Regions from separate parts of the Homo sapiens genome. Here regions 1 and 3 are each linked to region 2. Evidence: promoter capture Hi-C in 16 types of primary human blood cells and fetal thymus (Javierre and others, 2016). All regions are on one chromosome and are shown on one strand. The core of a region is centred on a gene start or on the middle of the fragment in contact, and the rest is flanking DNA. Distances in the headings are between cores, read along the strand shown. Region 1 has its middle 5.1 kb from the start of CABLES1. Region 2 holds the start of SLC35D4 (solute carrier family 35 member D4). Region 3 has its middle 21 kb from the start of CABLES1.

Evidence for each region. The method cuts DNA at HindIII sites, captures the fragments that hold promoters and counts their contacts. A CHiCAGO score of 5 or more calls a contact.
Region 1: a fragment that was not itself captured here is called in contact with the fragment with the promoter of SLC35D4 in region 2 in 15 of 17 cell types (total B cells, non-activated CD4 T cells, naive B cells and 12 more); the score reaches 11.0 in total B cells.
Region 3: a contact is called between a fragment that was not itself captured here and the fragment with the promoter of SLC35D4 in region 2, in 1 of 17 cell types (non-activated CD4 T cells). The highest score is 5.4, in non-activated CD4 T cells.

Annotation. Positions count from the first base shown.
Region 1 is chr18:23,129,077-23,131,776 of GRCh38, forward strand. No RefSeq gene overlaps it. Among named protein-coding and RNA genes, the nearest start is that of CABLES1, 5.1 kb to the right of the region's middle. RefSeq lists a silencer at 2,649-2,700. The HindIII fragment of the contact is 275 bases long and covers 1,305-1,579 here.
Region 2 is chr18:23,436,440-23,439,239 of GRCh38, forward strand. SLC35D4 (solute carrier family 35 member D4) reads right to left here and starts at 1,522. Exons shown (of 15, transcript NM_032933.6): 1 at 1,342-1,522. The coding sequence starts at 1,413. RefSeq lists a silencer at 1,551-1,650. The HindIII fragment of the contact is 5,255 bases long and covers 1-2,800 here.
Region 3 is chr18:23,112,875-23,115,574 of GRCh38, forward strand. No RefSeq gene overlaps it. Among named protein-coding and RNA genes, the nearest start is that of CABLES1, 21 kb to the right of the region's middle. The HindIII fragment of the contact is 5,021 bases long and covers 1-2,700 here.

The DNA of each region.
Region 1 (2,700 bases), core at 192-2,691, 310 kb before region 2:
ACACTTGCTAGGAGTTTTATGCAGGCCTTGTTTCTAATCTGCATCATAACCATGTGAGGTAGATAGGATTTGCTCTAGTCTGAAGATGTAGAAGCTGAAACCTAGAGGTCCCAGAGCTAGTGATAAGTTGGATCGACAAACCCAAGCCGCACCCTTGTGCCGCACAGGACGTTCTTTTGGAGAGCTTATTGAATGGACCATTCCATTCCCAATGCCTCCCCTTCTCCTCCATGATTGGCTGAGCTGCATGGAAGGGAGACTTTTGATGACTCAGAGGAAACTTGAAGAATAAATGCATTTGCACTATTGTTTTTGGATATATACTCTAAAAAGACAGTGGAGATGAGGAAGGGTTATCTGGAACATTGACACTTCTTCCCAGATTGACGAGGTACTTACATCCATTCTTGGCTTGAACTATTGTCCTTGATAATGAGTGACACATGTTTATATGACCATCCCTACAGTCCCAAGGACATGCCCCATCGCCTATTTCTCTCGGCTTCTCACACAAGTTATAAAAGCTGGAAGGAACTGCAGTAAAATATCACTCTTCCTCTTTCTTCCACATAGTGTCAGAGGTCCAGAGACAAAAAGAATCCTGTCTGGGCCTATGATACGACAGTATCAGGGGCTGCTGGTGCCAATCATTGAGAGAAGGGCAGGTTCTCGGGCAGGAAGAGGAGACTTGAAGGACAGAACTTTGGCAGGAAGTAGCAGGGACACCATGTCCCCTTGGCATTTTCTCCTGTGTAGGGAGAAGAGGGTGTCCTAGATGGCTGGCCCTGGGGACAAAAGTTGAAAAAGCCTCTATTCTAGGGGGTAGGCTGGGGACCAGTTGAACTCTGTGCATACAGCTCTTTTTTTTTTTTTTTTTTTTTGAGACGGAGTCTTACTCTGTCGCCCAGGCTGGAGTGCAGTGGCGTGATCTCAGCCCACTGCAACCTCCACCTCCCAGGTTTAAGCGATTCTCCTGCCTCAGCCTCCTGAGCAGCTGGGATTACAGGCACGCGTCACCACGCCCAGCTAATTTTTGTATTTTTAGTAGAGACGGGGGTTTCACCATGTTGGTCAGGCTGGTCTCGAACTCCCAAACTCATGATCCGCCCACCTCCGCCTCCCAGAATGCTGGGATTACAGGCACGAGCCACCGCGCCTAGCCAGGATTTAACTTTCATTGGATTAAGGAAAGCAGCAGGTTTCTCAGGGAGACTATGCCTGTTAGATCGACAGTCCAGTGCCAGCCTGTACTTTCATGGAAAATACCGTAAAATAATCTGATTTAAGCAGGAGCTAACAGCTGAAGCTTCTCATGTTCCTGCCTGGAAAGGCATGCTAATATTTCACTGGTCTCAGGATCAGTGAAAACTATAAAAACCTAGAACCTAAAATATTCTGGCCTTTTTAATGTTCACCTTCTGTATTTTGCATTTTTCTAATAATAGCTACCCACTGAACTACAGGTACTCTGCTAGTTACATAATTTATATTGTTGGTAACCCTCACAACCCTGCAAGGTAAAATATTGCAAAACCTACCTTCATCCATAGATAAGGTAGGTGAGGCCACCAAGGAACAAAGCTTGTAATATCCACAAACTGGAGACCTTACAAGGTCGCATGTTTCTAGGAGCCTAAGCTAATTTTCAGACTTCTCAGTCTGCTGAATTATTTTTTTGAAGGGCCAGTGATTACATGTAGGTTGTTTTTTCCTTTCTTTTTAAAAACTAACCTCCAATATGTCTCCATCAAAACAGTACATGCATTTTGAATTCATGTGTGCTACAAAGTTTCAGAATGGGCACTTGAAAGGGGCAATATAAAAGGGAAGGGGGAGAAGGGGGAACGTGGCTGACCAAGTAGAATCACGTTTCAAGTTCTAGTCCTCCAGGCCTGCTATGCATGAGGAATTTGTATGCCAAACTTCCTCTTCTGCAAGGATCCTCCTCCTGGCCTCCTGAATCTCCTAGATCAGCTCAAATCCTGGCTCTTGCCTAAGGCCTTCCCCCACACTGCAAATAAAAAACTTCTTTTCCGGTCGGCCTGTAATCCCAGCACTTTGGGAGGCCGAGGCAGGCGGATCACGAGGTCAGGAGATCGGGACCATCCTGGCTAACACGGTGAAACCCCATCTCTACTAAAAATACAAAAAATTAGCTGGGCGTGATGGCGGGCGCCTGTAGTCCCAGCTACTCGGGAGGCTGAGGCAGGAGAATGGCGTGAACCTGGGAGGTGGAGCTTGCAGTGAGCCGAGATTGTGCCACTGCACTCCATCCTGGGCGACAGAGCGAGACTCCGTCTCAAAAAAAAAAACAAAAAACTTCTTTTCCATATTCTGATAATGCTTATAGTCCAGTTGCGCATTTGAAACTTAATCAGGGTTGGCTTTGCATTTTCATTTAAATGTGTTTTCCATGGTTGTAACTATCAAGGTCACAAGGGCTAAGGGCCACATTTCTTTTTATCCCTTTGTCACAGATGGTACTGTGGATGTAGAAGTTGCTTGGTAAAACTTGATCAATGACTAAGTAGTTGAAAAATAAATGAATTTGGAATAATTCAGGGACTAAGTAGATTAGGATGGTATAAATAACAACGGACATTTTAAAAAGTACTTTAAAGTTTGTAAAATGTTCCTCAGGTAGTCTCATTTGTACCTAACAATAACCCACAGAGAAAACTAACTCAGAGAGGGTAAGTA
Region 2 (2,800 bases), core at 272-2,771:
TCACTGCCTCCCAGGAAGGCTGCATTTATGGACCTTCAAAGGCTTATCGCCATAACTAAAAATCAACTGGAGGCCAGGCGCAGTGGCTCACACCTGTAATCTCAGCATTTTGGAAGGCTGAGGCATGCGGATCACCTGAGGTCAGGAGTTCGAGACCAGCCTGGACAACATGGTGAAACCCCGTCTCTACTAAAAATACAAAAATTAGCCCAGCGTGGTGGCGCACACCTGTAGCCCCAGCTACTCACGAGGCTGAGGCAGGAGAATCGCTTGAACCCAGGAGGCAGAGGTTGCAGTGAGCCGAGATCACGTCACTGCACTCCAGCCTGGGTGACAGAGCGAGACTCTATCTCAAAAAAATAAAAATAAAAATCAACTGGAGAAGGAAAGGGGGTTGGGGAGCATCCTCTGAATATATAAAGGCAGCCATTCATTGTAGGAGAGGAGGTAGAAGGAAATGCTGTTTGTCGATGGTTCTTTTCCAGAGAGGAAGAGAGGAGAAAGGAAGAGCGGGGAGCAGGTGGGGAGCCCGCAGTAAGACCCCACAGTGGGGCCAGGTGGTCTTGCACCCTGTATTCCCACTTTGGCTGGGGCCAGCCCAGAGTCCAGGCCAGCAGGTAATGCCCCAGCCATGCCCACTCGGTCCTATTGGATCCAACCTTTCCCTGCGTGGTACCAAACCTAAAGCCAGCTTCCCTCTCCTTGCAAAACAAAACCCCAAAGCTGGCACCACTGCTTCTCTGCCTCCTCACCAAAAGGTTTTCATGATGTCATGACATTAGTTTAAACCTAAAACTAAATGTATGTTTTATTTTAAAAAATAATAATTCCATGAAAAACTCCTGAAGTGCTTACAATGGAGACGTACAAAAAAATTGATTCGGGAATCAGCAGTGTGAGGGGGAGACGGCTTAATCTCTTCTATTTAAAGGCTTCTGGAACTTCACGGGGGCTCTGGGACAGGGGCGTGTTTAGAAAAAAGGCAGGATGTGTCAGATTTCTTCTGACTCTTCCTCCCCGGGGGAGCAGGAGCCAATTGCTTGCTTTCTCTTAAAACTAGTCCACACAGCCCCAAACCAAGTTCCCGGGAAATGGCCAGCCCAAAAATCCTGTTTCCCTGGAGATGTACCGTGCTTTACAGTGCAGGAAACGGGGACAGTACAGGCTGGCAAATCCTATTTCTGAAAGAGCATCCCACACACGGAGGAGGTTCGCTCTCCATCTCCATCGCCACCAGGAAGAATGAGGTAAAAAGCAGGAGGAGGCTCCGTTTGTCACGGGAAGATTCTCCGACTCAAACCTCCCACGTGCAATCGCTGCCTCCCGCGCCCGCCCCCTCACCTTGTTCGTGAGGTAAGAAGCCAGGTAGCAGGTACAAAAGGTGAGGCCGACCAGAGACCTCCTCACGCACATCTGTCAACTCGTCCCCTTCTCGGGGATCCACGGTGCCTGCCCAAATCCCCTGGCCGCCGCCCGACCCCCGCAGCAGCAGCAGCGGCAGCGGCAGCAGCCGCCCAGAGACGGCCACGTGGCTCCGAGCTCCGCCAATCAGCGCGGGGACCGCCCCCGGCGTCTGCCTTCTTAAAGGGGCCGCGCCCTCGAAGGACGGTCATTCTTCTTTTATTTTTTATTTTTTATTTTTTTATCTTCTTTTAAAGAGTAGAAAGTGGCAGAAGAGGAAAAAAGCATACCGCAGTTCACAATACCCCATCAGTGTTTAAAGAAAAATGTTCATCGCTATCTCTAAACTATGAGACCAAAATATTACCCGTGCTTCACTGAATTTTCCCAATTTTCTCCACTGAGTCTGTAGCGCTTTGGCAAATGACACAAAAAAGGTAACAGCAACAAATGTTCACTTAAAAGAGGGAAGGTGAAGGAAGAAGGAACTGGAATTGAGTATAGGTTTTTTGAGTTTTGTTTGTATTTAAAGTCATTCCATTCTCTTGACATTTCTATAAAATAAGAACCCTTTCCCAAGCACAGCCCCTATTCCTATTCCTATTCCTAGTCTATAGGGTGGAAAACTGGACTCATGAGGCTTCCGGCAAATGTTAGTAAACATGCAAGAAAACCTATTGATGGACTTGGACAATAGCAAAAAGTGCCAGTGTTCTCTGCCTGTAGAAACACACAGATTTTCAGAAACACCCACACACGGGGAAACCATCACTCTTAAGCCACAGCAAAAGTCCTCCTGGCTCTCGGTGCTGGAGCAGTGGATGGAAAACGACACACCAACCCTTATGTAATTTTTCTGTTTTTCAGAAGCATGCCTTGTTTCTCTCTGCTCCCTCCAGCATTGAGGGAGGGCTGACCTCGGCTTGTCCCCTTGAAGCCACTCCCCAGCCACCACTGTCTCATCGCAGTCCTTTGCCTCTGCTCACTTTTCCACAGGTCTCTTCCTGGGCCTGCTGGTTGGTCTGCAGAGGGGACCAACATAGAGATGGAGGTAGGCTGGTCACCCCTTCCCTCCCTTTTCTCCCACAGTCTCCTTCAAACCACTTGTACAGATGGGTATAGCTTTCTCTACCAAGACTGGATGATATGGTTTGGCTGTGTCCCCAAATCTCATCTTGAATGGTAGCTTTCATAATTCCCACATGTTATGGGAAGGACCTGGTGGCAGATAATTGAATCATGGGGGCAGTTTCCCCCATATTCGTCTCGTGGTAGTGAATAAGTCTCCCCAGAGCTGATGGTCTTATAAGGGGAAACCCCTTTCGCTTGGCTCTCATTTTTTCTCTCTTGCCTGCCACCATGTAAGACGTGCCTTTTGCCTTCCACCATGATTATGAAG
Region 3 (2,700 bases), core at 163-2,662, 320 kb before region 2:
ACACTCAACATTTGGAGACTGAGAGGAGGAGGGTCAGTGGGCAGAGGGAAACCTGGAGCAAAAGACACTTCTTGCAGTGACTGCTACTTCCTGCTGAAGTTCCTTAGGGAATGGGGTCAGGATAGGTTCCTCTCTCCTTTCCCCATTGTGTGTATATGTGTCTGTGTGGTAAAATATACATAGCATGACATTTACCATCTTAGCAATTTTTTATTTTATTTTGTGAGACAGAGTCTCACTCTGTCGCCCAGGCTGGAGTGCAGTGGTGCAATCTCAGCTCACTGCAACCTCCGCCTCCTGGGTTCAAACGATTCTCCTGCCTCAGCCTCCTGAGTAGCTGGGACTAGCTAATTAGCCACCACACCTAGCTAATTTTTATATTTTTAGTAGAGACAGGGTTTCACCATGTTCGCCAGGCTGGTCTCAAATTCCTGACCTCAGGTGATCTGCACACCTCAGCCTCCCAAAGTGCTGGGATTATAGGAGTGAGTCCCTGAGCCCGCCACCATCTTAGCAATTTTTAAGGTACAGTTAGTTGAGTGGCATTAAGTACATTCACATTGTTGTGCAACCATCACTACCACCCATCTCCATAGCTCTTTTCATCTTGTAAAACTGAAATTGTACGTTAAACACTAACTCCCCTTCCCTCCTCCCCCCAGCCCCTGGCTACCACCACTCTGTCTCTATGATTCTGATGACTCTAAGTACCTCATACAAGTGGAATCACAGTGTATTTGTCTTTCCATGACTGGCTTACTTCACTTAGCATAATGTCCTCAAGACAGGACAGGTCTTGCCTCAGCTGCAAGCTGGTGCCAGAACCAGCCATCCCTGGTTCTGGGACGTCCATGGGCATGGCCTGGGGGCTCACTTGAGCAAAATTCCATGGCCCCACGAAGACAACCAGAGTCCCCCGTACCTCTCCATCCCGCACAGGCTCAGTCTTCCAAAACACTGCGGTGTGGGAGGGGGTTGCCTCAGTCCAGTCAAAACCCATTTTTTTAGAAAACCATTTATGCCGCTTCTTTAAGAGCTAAAGAATCCTCCAATTTACTCAACTCTAAAAAAAACCTTAACACCCAAACAGTAGCATCTGGACATAAATTTAACTAGATTTCAGAGTTTTCTCTAAGAATAGTTGGTGAATGTTGCTTTACGTCTTGGAGAATTTCCTAAACTAAGAGAGTCCAAAGATAAGGATTATTTCACTTCCAGGAAACAAAACTGCCATTTAGGTCCCTAAATGGCAGATCCCAGGTAACAGTACAAAACAAGTCTCTCTTTACAAAGCCCCTGCTATTGTAGTTAAAATAAACAGTCCATGTGTTAGAGTTGGAAATTCTATTGTTATATAGATATCTTGCTGAAATGGGTTCTGACCCCTACAAAGAGTTCTCAAGAATGAAACACGTGATGTTCCTTTAATGTTGTTTTTGCTCATGCAAATGACATCCTATTACACCCACGGATGCTTAACTACTAAGTTAAAACAACTACATGGCAATTTTGATCACTCCAGAGTCCCCTCACTGTTTTGTGGTTTTATGTAATTCGCATATTGTGTACAAAAAGACTTGACCTGGAGCCGGCAGCAAGAAATGTGTAATTAGAAACACTTCCCGAGGAAATTAGGTGACAAGTGAAGGCTTGAGGATTTCCGAGGGAGCCTGGAGCTGCAGATATTCATTATGGGTACTTAAGAGGCACAGCTGCCTCTGCTGAAAACCATGTCAAATGCCGTCCGCTGGATGCCAGCGTGGAGGCCAGCCCAGAGCCAGAGATGGTGGCTATGGCAACACGCTACTCCATTTTTAAACTTTTCATTACCTAAAAGGAAATTGCTTAGGCTGTTTTTCTTTTTTTCCTTTTTCTCCCTACCAATTTCAGAGTTTGTACCAGCAGTGAATAGCCTCCAGGTCTAACATTTCCTGGGTAATGAGTGACTAGCTGGGTGAAGTGCTTTTGGCCTTACCTCCAGCCTTGGCAACTCCAGCCAGTTATTAATTGCTGCACCGGGAAACACTTTCCAATCAAGCTATTATTTAATCAAAATAAAAGAAAACGAACTATTATTGCTGTCAACAGCAATGAGCAACTCTCCGCAGGAGTCTAAATGGGAACTGTGGAGGTTTTCACTGGAAGAAGTGTTCCTCTGGGGGTCAGATAAGCAGGGCAACGTGAAGTTGCGTGGAGTACCCTTGGGAACTGGTTCTTGTGGGAGGAGAGAATGTTGAACCAGCAGGAAGACGCAGAGAGATTACACACACCCTGTCCTAGATCTCAGTCATTCATGGTCAGTTAACCTGTAACCTTGCTGTTAAGCCAGTGCCCCAAATGCTTCTGTGGGAGTGTCTGCAGGGGAAAAGACAGTCCATAGAAGCATTTGGGCTGCTTCTATAAGCAATAAATAGTAAAACCTGTAACCACCATAATAACCACACTTCCTGAGTACCCCCAATGTGCCAGGCAGGCACTGTGCCCCCAGGTTTATACTCAGATCTCAAGAGTTCCCCACATTGCCACTGTGGGGAGAGTATAGTCACGATCCCTCTTTCACAGGGACACTGAGTCCGAGAGAGATGAACTTGGCCAAGACCCACCACACCCTGGTGTGAATAGCAGAGCCGGGGCTTGACTTCTAGTCTCTGCATCGAGCAGTTGCTTTTTTTTTTTCTTTAAGTGACAATATAAACATAA